5 separate regions of the Homo sapiens genome follow, and regions 2, 3, 4 and 5 are each linked to region 1. The links are contacts of gene promoters, found by promoter capture Hi-C in blood cells and fetal thymus (Javierre and others, 2016). All regions are on one chromosome and are shown on one strand. Each heading gives the region's core, a stretch centred on a gene start or on the middle of the fragment in contact. The rest is flanking DNA. Distances are from core to core; before and after follow the strand shown. Region 1 holds the start of YEATS2-AS1 (YEATS2 antisense RNA 1). Region 2 holds the start of ABCF3 (ATP binding cassette subfamily F member 3). Region 3 overlaps SNHG33 (small nucleolar RNA host gene 33). Region 4 has its middle 31 kb from the start of SNORA63E. Region 5 holds the start of HTR3E (5-hydroxytryptamine receptor 3E).

Evidence for each region. The method cuts DNA at HindIII sites, captures the fragments that hold promoters and counts their contacts. A CHiCAGO score of 5 or more calls a contact.
Region 2: the fragment with the promoter of ABCF3 here is called in contact with the fragment with the promoter of YEATS2-AS1 in region 1 in 11 of 17 cell types (M1 macrophages, erythroblasts, M0 macrophages and 8 more); the score reaches 11.6 in M1 macrophages.
Region 3: a fragment that was not itself captured here is called in contact with the fragment with the promoter of YEATS2-AS1 in region 1 in 13 of 17 cell types (megakaryocytes, naive B cells, M1 macrophages and 10 more); the score reaches 11.1 in megakaryocytes.
Region 4: a contact is called between a fragment that was not itself captured here and the fragment with the promoter of YEATS2-AS1 in region 1, in 1 of 17 cell types (erythroblasts). The highest score is 5.5, in erythroblasts.
Region 5: a contact is called between the fragment with the promoter of HTR3E here and the fragment with the promoter of YEATS2-AS1 in region 1, in 4 of 17 cell types (M0 macrophages, M1 macrophages, monocytes and 1 more). The highest score is 7.8, in M0 macrophages.

What each region holds. Positions count from the first base shown.
Region 1 is chr3:183,809,137-183,811,853 of GRCh38, forward strand. It overlaps YEATS2-AS1 (YEATS2 antisense RNA 1), which reads right to left and starts at 1,315. Exons shown (of 3, transcript NR_046727.1): 1 at 883-1,315. YEATS2 (YEATS domain containing 2) reads left to right here. Exons shown (of 31, transcript NM_018023.5): 30 at 1-34; 31 at 1,339-2,717. The coding sequence ends at 1,447. RefSeq lists an enhancer at 498-1,697. The HindIII fragment of the contact is 7,253 bases long and covers 1-2,717 here.
Region 2 is chr3:184,184,853-184,187,569 of GRCh38, forward strand. It overlaps ABCF3 (ATP binding cassette subfamily F member 3), which reads left to right and starts at 1,347. Exons shown (of 21, transcript NM_018358.3): 1 at 1,347-1,428; 2 at 1,655-1,802; 3 at 1,944-2,023; 4 at 2,545-2,591. The coding sequence starts at 1,356. RefSeq lists enhancers at 140-854, 1,332-1,651. The HindIII fragment of the contact is 6,180 bases long and covers 1-2,717 here.
Region 3 is chr3:183,448,582-183,451,298 of GRCh38, forward strand. The region is part of intron 1 of SNHG33 (small nucleolar RNA host gene 33); the gene reads left to right. Among named protein-coding and RNA genes, the nearest start is that of SNORA63D, 1.9 kb to the right of the region's middle. The HindIII fragment of the contact is 177 bases long and covers 1,321-1,497 here.
Region 4 is chr3:183,483,847-183,486,563 of GRCh38, forward strand. No RefSeq gene overlaps it. Among named protein-coding and RNA genes, the nearest start is that of SNORA63E, 31 kb to the left of the region's middle. The HindIII fragment of the contact is 339 bases long and covers 1,228-1,566 here.
Region 5 is chr3:184,095,693-184,098,409 of GRCh38, forward strand. It overlaps HTR3E (5-hydroxytryptamine receptor 3E), which reads left to right and starts at 1,372. Exons shown (of 9, transcript NM_001256613.2): 1 at 1,372-1,904. The coding sequence starts at 1,838. All of the region lies in intron 2 of HTR3E-AS1 (HTR3E antisense RNA 1), which reads right to left. The HindIII fragment of the contact is 4,461 bases long and covers 1,099-2,717 here.

The sequences.
Region 1 (2,717 bases), core at 65-2,564:
TGGCAGTTGGATACCAGACAGCTTCTCACAACAGGTATTACTATCTCTGCAGTCTGTGGTGTGAGGCTTACACCTCTTTCCTAACAGTTGAATTGCCCATGAAGGTGTTTTATACTTACATCAATCCAGTAGGAGATGGAGTGAGTGCTTAGGACACTCTTAGAGCCAGATGAGCTCAAGGGTCTGCTTTGTCATTTTTAGAGAACCTCATGGTTGTGAAAGCTCACTCAGCTTTGCTCAGAGGTTTATATCCTCCTCATTACTTCACAGACACCTAGGACTCTGTTTTATTACAGGGTTGAATAAATATTAGCTTTGCAATTAAAGATAACAGTGTCCATTACATGTCAGACACGAGGGCCAAGCGTTGCATATATTACCTAATTTGTTTTTCATTGCAGAACTATTATTCTCTTTTTAAAAATCAGGAAACCGGGCTTTGAAAGGTAATTTTACCCAGCTTACCCAGCAAATACAGTGTAGACCTGGACTTCCGACTCAGGTCTCATTGGCTCTGAGGCCCCTGGGCTCGCCACTGCTCTTTGCTGACTCGTTGTCTTTGATTAAGACACTGAGTTTCAGTCTGTTCCTAGGCCCTGAAAGGATGGTAGATAGGCCACATCTGCTTTTCTTTCGGAGGAAACAAATATTATTTTATTGCATTATGCTAAAGGCTGTCACAGATTTATAAAATTGTAGCAAAGTGCCTGAGGACATGAAGGGCCTAAATCAGAGGAATAGTAGATGAAACTTCACAGGAATATATCAGACAACATAGGCGTCTTTAGAGAAAAGGAAGGGGAACCAAGAGTTCCGGTCCTGCTGCCCACTGTCCTGCTTGGACCCACAAGTGAGCCAGGGCCTCCTGTGGCCCCTGCTTACCTCTGTGCTCCCTGTCCTGGAGGGGTAGAGTGACTTAGGTGCTTTTGATGGAACGATTAACATCACGCCTGGCCTGGCGTGGCTCCGTCTCCCGTCTTTCTAGGAGATGGGAAATAAGGTCCCAGAGTTTTGTGGTGCTTTGACTCAGCTTTCGGTCTGCTGAGACTCACTCACAAATGTGTCATTCCGTTCTGCCATCCGCTTTGTTTTCTTTCTCTTTTCTCAGTTCTCAGAATCTTTTTTCCTAATTATTCAACCAACTTGTTGACATCCTTCTCATGCCTATGACAGGAAGGCAGTCCTCACCCCAGAGTGGCCCTAAGCTATGTCTGTGGCTCAGGAGCCCTCTCCACGGGGCCTCTGCCTGGGATGGTCCCTGTGATGAGTTAAGTGAATAAATGATGAGATATACGTGAGAGAATTTCACCTGGTAACACCCTTTGTTTTTTGGACCAGGATTCCCAAAGAAATTACAGTGAGTAATATTCACCAGGCCATTTGCAACATTCCTTTTCTGGACTTCCTCACAAACAAACACATGGGAATATTGAATGAGGACCAGTGAGCGGAGTGAGGTGCCCTGGAGAAGCAGGCTTTGAAGGCACAGCGAAGCTGTAACTGAGGACCCTGCTGCTCGGGAAGGAGGTGGTTTCCAGTGTGACTCGGCATGTCATGGCTACCCAACCTTTGCCGCTGCCTGTTCCCACGTGTCACCAGCACGCTGCACTCCAGATGAAATCCTCCTAGGACAGGAGTTTGTTTCCTGAGTGTGGAGTGAGGCTGTCAGTGGATCCGTGCTTTGTCGGCCAGCGTTTCTGCAGTCTTTGTAAAGGCCCCACGAGAGCGGGCCAGGCCGTGTGCCTCAGGCCCTTCTCCCTGGGTGTGCTTAAGGGGGCTCCTTGGGCCCGCCTCCCCAGGAGGTAGAAAATGAGTGGCAGGCTAGAGATTTCACCCATTTTGTGGGCTGGAGTTACCAGTAGCTCCAGCAGTTACCCTGAAGAGAGATTGGGCTTCAGCCTTCAGCAGGTGGTTCTCTCCCATGCCTGGCCTTGGTGTGGAGGGGCTGTACTCTGAGCCCAAGTGAGTCAGCTATAGGAAGAGGCCATACCTAGAGCCAAGAACCATGAAGGCCTGAGAGACGGCAGACTGAGCAGAATTCCTTTTTTGAGCACGAGAGCATTACTAGAACCATTGTCAAAGCAGTGGCAAGGGACGGAGAGGTCCCAACAGGAGTCAGGAAGAGGTTTGATTATAACCAAGAAAACTCACTATGCTAGGAATAGACTGTGTGCACCAGTCCCAGACACTTGGCAGAAGTGTAGCAGCGTTACACATGTGTGCGAAGCAGATCGCAGGTTCCACGCCATCTGCATGGCCTGCAGGAGCTTCTGCTGCTGACCCCATGCTGAGTGGCCAGTGGGGAGCGGCGCCCGGCAGGCTCTTCTGGGGTCGTCTGTCCTATCCGTGGATTGTATATACTCTTCTCTGTTAAGGAGTTTTTCCCAAGAAGAAAAGTATTTAAAAGAAATACCAGTGAGTGCCTTAAAGTTGGAGAAGTAACTGCCCATGCCCAGAAATAAGGATGCCAGTGCCCAGAAGCAGTGAGATTAGTCTGTGTCCACAAGCAGAGGCCCCCTCGATGGGAGGGAGTGGCAGGCAGGAGAAGGTGGCGCTGCCAGGTGCCCGGGTCTATTGGAGGCGCCCCATCTCAGACTTCCTAACACAGCCTGTGTGGAAGGCAGAACAAAGAATGCATGCCCAGTCAGAAATCTGTTCTATTCTGCTCCAGGAAAATCGGAAACCTGTGAGTCAGAGTCAGAGAAACTTACCCAAGC
Region 2 (2,717 bases), core at 97-2,596, 380 kb after region 1:
GAGCCAAGATCACGCCACTGTACTCCAGCCTGGGCAACAAGAGCGAAACTCCTTCTCAAATTAAAAAAAAAAAAAAAAAGAATATAATGAATCTCCATGTCTCATCACCCAGCTTCAACTATGATCAATGCGTGGCCAGTTCCTTAATATCACATCCAGTTTGTGTTCACTTAACCAGGTGTCTTATCAAATTTTTCCAGATAAGGTCCATTGTGGTTGGTTAATGCTCCTCAAATTTTAAAAATTGATGTTTCCCTTCAGGTCTTGCAATTTTGTGGAAGAAACCAGAGTTCTGTAGTTTACCACATCAGAATTTGCCTGTTGTCCCCATGAAGTCACTTAACATATTCCTCTTTACCTGTATTTCCTGTAAAATGGTTCAATATCGGGATTGATGCCTCATGATGGCAATGTTTAATCCAAAGGGATGAATGGGTAATAATGTAATTTTCGGTGCCACTTTTAGAGACCAATTGGAGGAATATTCACGTTAAATATAAAGCAGTAGCATCATTTTGGAGGAAATTCCTAACTTCCCGAGGGAATCGGTGAAAGGAAATAGCCTTTTATTGGCATTTATTGAGTGCAGAGAAGTCTGCTCAGGGTGTAGGTAGGGAATAATTTATACAGGCCACGTTGTCCTGGTTTTCTTGCCCTTTGGCGGTGGATTTGGTCGTGCCCTGGGGTGGTGGAAGAACTGAATGGGCTTAATTCACAAAGGTCGGCTGAATTACACAGTGAAAAGGCGGTCGCGGCGGGGAGGCGGGTGGCGCTGGCCACCAGGCTGAGAAGCCCGTAGGGTCTGGGGACCCGCGAAAGCAAAGCACTGAGCAGGGGGCTTCTGAGAGTCAGGGACCGGGGTGAGTCAGCAAAGCTCTGGGCAGGCTCCAAAATGGGCCTGACTGGGTACGCACCAGCAGCAGACGCGCCTCGAGGGAGCGCATAAAACCTGGCAAAGCCAAAGTGCTTTATCAGCCGCCTGCCTCTTGGGAGGCTCCCACCCGCCAGACCACGGGTGCCTCGCGGCCCCGATAAACCTTGAGCTCCCAGCCTTTGCCCCACCCCTCGCTCCCGGAACTCCACCTCCCAGAAGGCAGCGAGAACCGCACATGTGGCTAATCTTTCAGCGGAAAAGGTGTCGCGCACGCGCAGAGAGCGCGGCTCCGGCGCAGACTCGGCGCCTCTCCTCAAGGCCCCGCTCGCCCCGCCCACCGGGCTCTGCGCACTCCGCTCCTTTCCTGCGTCACCGCTACACATGCGCCTTGCAAGGAAGGGCGAGATTTCGGGGGCAGGGCGGGGGGCGGGCCTAGGCCGGGGTCTCACAGCGACTGCGCGGACGGGTTCCTGAGTGGAACATGGCGACTTGCGCCGAAATCCTGCGGAGCGAGTTCCCCGAAATTGACGGACAAGTCTTCGACTACGTGACCGGTAAGCAGAACTGAATCGGCCGGCTGGGGAGACCGAAGTGGAGGCCGGGGGAAAGTCTAAGCGAGCGTCGTGCCCGGGACTGTTGCCAGGCCTCTCCTCTGCATGACCTCTTGTCCCGGGGGCTGGTTGGGTCTGGAGCCTGGACTGGGGCCTCTGTCTGGGGTCTGAAACTGCTTGTGTGTCCACCCTACCCGATACCTTCCTCGTTCTACCACGCCCTGCCCAGGCGTCTTGCACAGCGGCAGCGCGGACTTCGAGTCTGTGGATGACCTGGTGGAAGCTGTAGGGGAACTATTGCAAGAGGTGTCCGGGGACAGCAAGGATGACGCGGGCATCAGGGCCGTGTGCCAGCGCATGTACAACACTCTGCGTCTGTATGTGCCAGGGAGTAGGGGTTGATGGGGGCGAAGGGACGGCGAACGGTCCGGAGACAAGAGGTGGGGGAGGAAGATCTGATGGCCATAGAGCTTTTCCCTCAACTCCTAACTCTGCGCTTTCTATCCCTACCCACATAGGGCTGAGCCACAAAGCCAGGGAAATAGCCAGGTGCTACTGGACGCCCCTATCCAGTTGTCAAAGATAACGGAGAACTACGGTGAGAGTGAGGGGAGGTTGAACTAACTGCCCCCCTGTGCTTTTCTCCGCCCCCAACCATCTGCTGCCTGCAGCTTAGGGCTCCTACGTCTTTTCCACAGGACAAGGTTGTAGGAGCTAGTTGATGTCTTTACCGAGGGCAGAAGAGCCCATGATGGGGGTGGGGAGGAGGTTGGAGGGTTCTCCCTCCAAGCTCTTGGGTAGGATAGGAAGCATAAGAGCCTGGAGCTGGACAGACTTGCTTTCACCCCCAGTTTTGCAACTTGCTAACCAGCTGCATGATCTTGTAAGAGTTGGTTATCTGTCCCCAGCCTTGTCTATGCCTCTGTATCCTTCTACGTGAGTTTTGTTTTGTTTTGTTTTGTTTTGTTTTTAGTGCAGGGAAGATAATAGCCATCTATCTGCAGTATTATAAGGTTTTGTAGAAAACATCTGTGTCTGTGCCTGGTTCCTATTAGTCACTCAAAATGTTAGTTTCCCTTCCCTCAGGGAGAAGGTGACTGCTTTTCTTATCGCTTACAGACTGTGGAACCAAACTTCCAGGACTGCTAAAGAGGGAACAGTCCTCGGTGAGGAGGAGGAAGCAAGGGAGGGGACTGTCTGTGATGGGGTTGGGAGTTGACTGTCTAATTGGAGTATCTTTTGGGGGGATTTCTGACTATGTCTTTTCCTGAGCCTTTGAGTCTGTTCATCAT
Region 3 (2,717 bases), core at 159-2,658, 360 kb before region 1:
CCACAAGATATTCACTTTTTTGCTCAATCGTGTGCAAAAAGTAGATTCAAAATTGCTAACCCATACCACTGTGTAAAAACAGACCAACTAGCCAGAGTTCAATATTGGTTTACAGTTATGTTTGTCTTTAGTTTCTGTAATTAAAACTGTATTATACAGGTTATGAAGGCAGTCATAGAGGTTTTATGACTATAGAGGTTACAAAGTCTCTATAATTAAGATGTGGAACTAGTGTGTGAATAATATAAAAAGACAAGTAGAATAGAATAGAAAATCCAGAAATAACCCCAAGTGCAGGTAGAAAGTTAAAGATAAAGGTGCTATCACATATCATTGGAGCAGAGTTGGGCTTTGTAATACACAGAGCTGGGCCAACTGGTTGGCCATTTGGAAAAAGATAAAATTAGATCTACACCTTATAGCGTAACAAAAATGAAGTCTAAATGGATCAGGGATCTAAATGTGAAAAATGAAACAATACAAGTACTAAAAAGAAAAAGGCTTTCTAACTATGACTCAAAAAACCATAAGCAATAAAATAAAAAGTTGATAAATTTGACCACATAAAACAAATAGCATGGCAAATACATCATAAAGTCAAAAGACAACTGAAAAAAAAAACTGGATTGGGAGAAAATATCTGTAGCACGTATCACGGGTAAAGGATGAAGATCTTTCATATTTAAATTTGAATTTTAAAACTTTTCCAAATCAATTTTCTCTGTTTACATTCAGCAGTGGCAAAGTGACTTTATCTTTTACATAAGAATATGTCAAAAAAGTAGCAAGTTATACTGCTTTTAAAGATAAGAGTCATCCGTTTAAAAATACTTATTATATCATGTGTCTTAGGGCCCCAAAGGAAACCCTAACACAGGAATTCCTGTGCAAATAATTAGAAAGTTTCCAGGAAAAAATCACAGGGTAATAGAGAAATAGAATAGAAAGGGAAGGAAGGCCAGTGAGCAAGCTGCTCTAAGCCTGTTCCCCTGGAGGTGGCTCAGTGCTGCTTAACTCTAAGTCAGTGTGCATGGTCAATCCCTGGAGTCGTCCTTACCAGAGAACCAGCAGGCTGGTGTGTTTATGTCTCTACCGAGTCATTAGTTAAGGTCTGCCCTCAGGGAGACCTAACTTCCCAGATACTTCGGGTTTTATAAAAATATAAAACATCATACTTAAGACTTAGTATAAAGTTGTCCATTCAGAACCTTCTTTTTAACTATTGTCCCTGTATGCAGGGAGTTTTTGTTTCAAATTAAACAAAAACTAGGGTTGCAGATATGGTTTATAGGACTGTATCTCAACAGACTGACAAACTGAAGCTTTCTTTCTGGGTAGACTGGGATCCATGCCTTTTCTGTTCACTGTTGTCAAGTTTAAATGCAGTGTGCAACATGAAAACCGCAGTGATGTGTTATTAGTTGGGAATCTTTGTCATTTGGGATATCTGCATGCTATCTGTTTTCAGAGCTCACTGCTGTATTAGCTATGAAGTAAAGCTTGTTTTAACAAAGCAATAGGCTTCATTAAGATCAAGGCTGTGTATAAGTCATGGTTTCCTACTGGAAAGATAATTATCTTTAAGGTAAATGATAACCAGTGAATACATATCGGAACAACTTCCCTGGAGATGTCAATGCAGAGCTTATTCCCTGTTTATACATCTTAAACACAGAATAATAATGTAGGAAATGTCTATTTTGATTTTTCCTAGGCCTTTTTTTAGCCAGTGATATTTAGGATATGGGAGGGAAAATAGCCTAATGAAGCAAGTTGCTACACATGAATATCTAGAGGTGATACTAAGACTTTCGAAAAATAGACTTTATTTTATTTTTAAAATGGTTTTAGGTTTCCAGAAAAAAGTTACAGGTTTACAGAGAAGATAGTACAAAGAGTTCCCATATACCTTGCACCCTATTATTCCTGTTATTAACATTTTATGTTAGTATGGTAAATTTGTGGTGTAATTATATTATGGTTATTATGATACCATTTTTTTCTTTTTCTTTTTTCTTTTCTTTTTTTTTTTGAGACGGAGTCTTACTCTGTCACCCAGGCTGGAGTGCAGTGGCATGATCTCAGCTCACTGCAACCTCCACCTCCCGGGTTCAAGTGATCCTCCTGCCTCAGCCTCCCGAGCACCTGGGACTACAGGCGCACACCATCACACCCAGCTAATTTTTGTATTTTTAGTAGACAGTGTTTCACCATATTGGCCAGGCTGGTCTCGAACTCCTGACCTCATGATCCACCTGCCTTGGCCTCCCAAAGTGTTGGGATTACAGGTGTAAGCCACCTCGCCCGACCAGTGTGATACAATTAATGAACCAACATTGATGTGTTATTATGAACTAAGGTCCACAATTTATTCAGGTTTTCTTAGTTTTTATGTAAAGTGCTTTTTCTGTTCCAGAATCTTATCCAGGATACCACATTCCATTTTGCTGTCATGTTTCTTTAGACCCCTCTAGGCTGTGACAGTTTCTCAGATTTTTCGTATTTTTGGTGACCTTGACAGTTTGGAGGAGTATTACTCAGGTATTTTGTAGGATATCTTTCTGTTAGAATTGACTGATGTTTTCCTCTGGATTAGACTTGAATTTGGGGCTTTGGGGAGGAAGACCACAGATATAAAGTGTGATTCTCTTTTTTTTTTTTTTTTTTTTTTTGCGACAGAGTTTTGCTCTTGTTGCCTAGGCTGGAGTGCAATGGTG
Region 4 (2,717 bases), core at 147-2,646, 330 kb before region 1:
TGTCACTGTCCTAATCTTTTTCTTTTTTTTTTTTTTTTCTATTTCTGGCTTGGTCTCATGTTTCAGGGAAATTACTCAATAGATGCTCCTATTACTACATTTTTACTATGAAAGAATAGAATTTCGGCCAGGCATAGTGGCTCATGTCTGTAATCCCAGCACTTTGGGAGGCCAAGGCAGGCGGAGGCGGATCACCTGAGGCCAGGAGTTCGAGACCAGCCTGACCAACATGGCAAAACCCTGTCTCTACTAAAAATACAAAAATTAGCTGGGCGTAGTGGCAGGTGCCTGTAATCCCCGCTACTCAGGAGGCCGAGGTAGGAGAATTGCTTGAATCCAGGAGGTGGAGGTTGCAGTGAGCTGAGATCTCACCATTGCATTCCGGCCTGGGCGACAGAAAAAAACAAACAAACTCAAAAAAACAAACTAACAAAAAAACTCAAAAAACTCAAAAAAAAACCTCAAAAAACTCAACAAAACAAACAAACTAACAAAAAAACAAAGAACAGAATTTCACCAACAAAAATCCTGTTTATCTAAGGCCAGACTTACAGATTTCTCTGCGCAGTCAGGTTTTCCCTCTGCCTTCTGTGTATTGCCGCTTTGTTAAATCAAGATGATATGGTTTGGCTGTGTCCCCACCCAAATCTCATCTTGAATTGTGGCTCCATAATCCTCAGGTGTCATGGGAGAGACCTGGTGGGAGGTAATTGAATAATGGGGGTAGGTTTTTCCCGTGCTGTTCTCGTGATAGTGAGTAAGTCTCACAAGATCTGATGGTTTTATAAAGGGCAGTTCCCCTGCACAGGCACTCCTTCCTGCTGCCATGTAAGACATGTCTTTGTTCCTCCTTCACCTCCTGCCATGATTGTGAGGCCTCCCCAGCCATGTGGAACTGTGAGTCCATTAAACCTCTTTCCTTTATAAATTACCTAGTCTCGGGTATTTCTTCACAGCATATGAAAATGGACTAATACACCAGGCTTTGCCACCCTCATCTCCCCTCACCCCTGCCCTGTCTGCCCAGGTCAGTGCCCTCCAGCCTTGTACCTTTCAGATATGGGTTGTGACCTGTGACCCATTTAGTGGGTGATGAAATTAATTTGGTGGCTTGTGAACAGCATTTTAAGAAAAAAATAGAATAGGAAATACAGAAAATGTGTTTCTTATTGTGATACATGTTCAAGAAAGTTTGAAAGCACTGCTCTGGCCTGTATGGGTCAAAGAAGCTTTAGTACTATTTTTCTCTTTAGTTGCCTTCAGCAGATTCTAGAAGAAGGGGCTTCGGCACTCCTGGCCTCGCACAGTGGGCCTGTGGTGGATTGTAGAAAATGGTCAGTTCTCTTTTAAAATGCTGCCAACAGCAGCGCAGGTGGTGGGCACACCTGTTCTTTTAACTGTATCTGTTTCATAAGGTAAGTATACCTGGGACACTGAAACTCTCAGTACCAACACTCCACTCATACCCTGCGCTCAGAGACTTCACCAAACCATCGCATGGCTTCTAGCAGCCTGAGGCCACGTCCCTGGGATGGCCCAGCCCCCTTTTGAGTTGCTGTCTGGGAAAGCTTAAGGCTGTCAAAAGAATTGAGTTTGTTCCACCAACATCTGACAACAGGCCCCTGATCTTGCTTTTTTAGAGCATTTACTAAAAAAAGGAGGCTTACCATTGTGAATCCTTCCTCTGTTGCTCTGAGCTACTATGTATGTGTTGCCTACAGCTCAGGGGTGTCTTTCTCAAGGACCTGAAAGCCATTCCCCTCAAGGTAATTATCAGGAAGGAGAGAGGATCCTAGCTTCGAGAACTGCCAGCTAGCAGACACAGCTGGTCTCATCATATTGACTCTGCCCAACACTTTGTCATTTTTCACTTCCCTGACTCTACCTGAACCTGCTCGCTCCACCTCCTGCCTCCCTTATTCTCCCTTTAAAAGGCCCAGTCAGCATCTCTGCACAAATCAGAATAGAGCTCAGCTCTTTCCGCTACTGTCAGCAGTTACTGAATAAAATTTGTTTTCACTGCTTTAACTAATGTCCAGCTTGTTTATTTTTATTTTTAAACCATATACGTACACATGCACACGCGCACACACACACACTTCTTCTCAAGACAAACATTGCTTCTCAGAGATAGCTGATTCTTGTCATCCTCATAATCTAGAGTATCTTCCCTTCCTATGTTTAAGTTATAAGTAAAGTTTTAACTGTTCCAGTCTGGTCTTTGATGTTCCTTAGGAAATTAAATGAAGAGTTGTGTATGGGACTCTTTCCTTACAGGGAAGAGTTGGGGCTATGAGGTCCAAATTTCCGTGCCCACTGGGAGCTTCTCCTTCCACTGCCAAACGTGGAGGAACCAGGATTCGTGTTACAAAGGGAGATTTCCAGTTGTCTTACACATCAAAGGCCACCCCCTTTTCCCTCTACCCAGCTTTAACTTTCCCAAAGAATTTATAAGCAGGAAGTCTCATATTCTCTATCCAGGCAGATGAGTAGAGATGGTTGGGCATGGGTTTCAAGGCAGCGTTTCATGTGGGAATCAATAACAAAGCAGACATCTGAATGTGCAAAGAGAAAAGGAAAATCCCCAGGTGCCAGTAAACAAACATGGAAGTGAAAAACAGAGTGACTGGTAAGCAGCCAGGCCAATGGTGGGGAGACTGGGGAGGGTGGGACTGGACCTGGATTCATCCCCAGCACCAAAGAGTTTTCAACTGTGG
Region 5 (2,717 bases), core at 122-2,621, 290 kb after region 1:
AACCAAAACTCAGTGGGCAGATTAGATGGACAGATTAGACACAGTTGAGGGTCAAGCACAGTGGCTCACTCCTGTAATCCCAGCACTTTGGAAGGCCGAGGTGGGCAGATCAGCTGAGGTGAGGAGTTCAAGACCAGCCTGGACAACATGGTGAAACCCTGTCTCTAATAAAAATACAAAAATTAGCTGGGTGTGGTGGCACAAGCCTGTAGTCCCAACTACTCAGGAGGCTGAGACAGGAGAATCGCTCAAATCAAGGAGGTGGAGGCTGTAGTGAGCCAAGATCACGCCACTGCACTCTAGCCTGGGCAACAGAATGAGACTCCATCTCAAAATAAAATAAAATATGGAAGGCATCCATACTTGCATTTTGCATTCTTCGTATGTAATCATATTGTCAAAGACAAATTATGTCATAATCTATTGTAAATAACACTTTTCCCCAGACCTACCATAAAGTTTCTGCAATGTATTGTCTTCCAGTTGCAATAAAAATTACTGAGTTTCATCAAAAATTAATTAATTAATTAATTAAAATAAACACAGTTGAGGAGAGAATTTTTTTCCTGGAAGCTAGATCTGAAGAAATCATTAGGGACAGAGATAAAGAGGTAGAAAATAGGAAAGAGAGGTGTGCTAGGCAGAATAACGGCCCCCAGAATTTGTCCACATCCTAATCTCTGGAACCTTAGGTTATATGGAAAAGGGGAGTTAAGGTTGCAGATGGAATTAAGGTTGTTAATTATCGGACTTTGAGATGGGGAGACTATCCTGGATTATCCAAATGGACACAATGCAATCACAAAGGCTCTTATAAGTGGAAGAAGGAGAGAGAAACAAATAAGAACCAGAGAGATGAGATGCCTTGTGAGAAACATTGGCCTGATGTTGCTGGTTTTGAAGATGGAGAAGTAAAAATAATGAACCAAGAAATACAGGCAGTTTAAAAGCTGGAAAAGGCCGGGTACAATGGCTCATGTCTATAATCCCAGCACTTTGGGAGATCAAGGTTGGAGGATCACTTGAGGCCAGGAGTTGGAGACAAGCCTAGGCAACAAAGCGAGACCTCATTTCTACTAAAAAAAAAAAAAATAGCCAAGCTTGGTGGCTCACACCTGTGAGGTCCCAGCTACTTGGGAGGCTGAGACGGAAAGATCCCTTGAGCCCAGGAGGTCAAGGCTGCAGTGAGTCGCGATTGCGCCACTGCACTCCAGCCTGGTCAACAGAGTGAAACCCTGTCTCAAAAAAAAAAAAATCTGGAAAAGGCAAGGAAATGGATTCTCCTCTAGAGCCTCCAGAGGGAATGCGGTCCTGCTGACACATTCATTTTAGCCCAGTGAGACCCATTTCAAACTTCTGGCCCACAGAACAGTAAAATAACAAATTGTGTTTATTTAAGCCACTGGGTTTGTGATTTGTTACAACAGCAATAAAAGGCATGTAAGATAGAAGGAAACCATTCAACACATGTCTAATAAGAAAAATAGAGGAAGTGAAACATTTATAAATGTCTGAGAATTTTCCAAAATTGAAGAGATGAGTCTTCAGACCAAGGGATCTCACCAAGATCTGCAAGTTGATCACGTATGAACTATCTATAACCATTTACGTTGCAGTGAAATACCTAAGACTAAGATAAAGTCTTAAAAGCAGACTGAACCTTAAGCATAGGCAAGAACAAGACAACCAGAACACTCTTTGAAGGAAGGTTACAAATGTCAGTGGTCAACCAATGCTATTAGTATTCAAAGTCAGACTCTAGGTGTGGCCTGTGCTGCTTTAATCTGGGCATTCCTGGGTCCCAGTACATGTTCAGAGAAGAACTTAGACAAAGAAGATGGAAGGAAGCTGGTTCCACAGGAAAAGATTTTCCTTCTACCTCCTTCTCGGTTTTCTGCTTCAAGGTAAGAAAGGAGCAATGATGGGGGAAGGCGGAAGAAGGAGGACCTCTCTCTAGTAGAACATCTAGGAACTTTTTTCAAATTTCCAACTCCTAGAGATTGTCTAAGATGGATAGAGTTCTTTCATAGCTACATTACTAAGATGCCCACATAGACTTTCCTTTTCTGAAAGACGGAAAATCCCCTTCCAGTTACATGCCAAACAAGAGCACTTTCATTTTCCTTCTCGAAAAATAGAGTTCAACACCAGCAAACTTTATCCTTTCACATATGGATATCCAGTTTTCCCAATACTACTTGAAAAGTCTGTCTTTTCTCCATTGGTACCCTACATGGAAGACAACCATCCACGATCGTCTTCTCTTGTATTTAGCTTCTATATCCATCCATCTTTCTATCCACAGGTGTAATTCTTTCTCTCTACAGGTATGAAACCCAAACCATTGTAGCAAAGTGCCCACCTCCTTTAGCCATAATTTCCCTGTCCATCTGCTGGATCCAAGGGCTCTAGGTTAGGTAAGGTGCCAGAAGGCAGCAGGTCAAGGGTGAAAGTAGAATGTGCTTCTCTTCCAGGGGGTCAGCATGGTAGAGAGACAAGAACATGGGATTTGGAGACAGGTGGACCTGGGTTTGAATCTTGGTGTCTCACGTTGCTAGTTTTATAAACTTGGATGCACTGCTTAACTTATCTGAGCTCTGGTTTCCTCATCTGTAAAACAGAACCTACCTTGCAGGGTTGTGAGGATTCAGTAAGAGAAGGAGGGAAGCACAGTGTCTGGCACTTGGTAAAAGTGCCAATAACTGTCATCTCTCCTC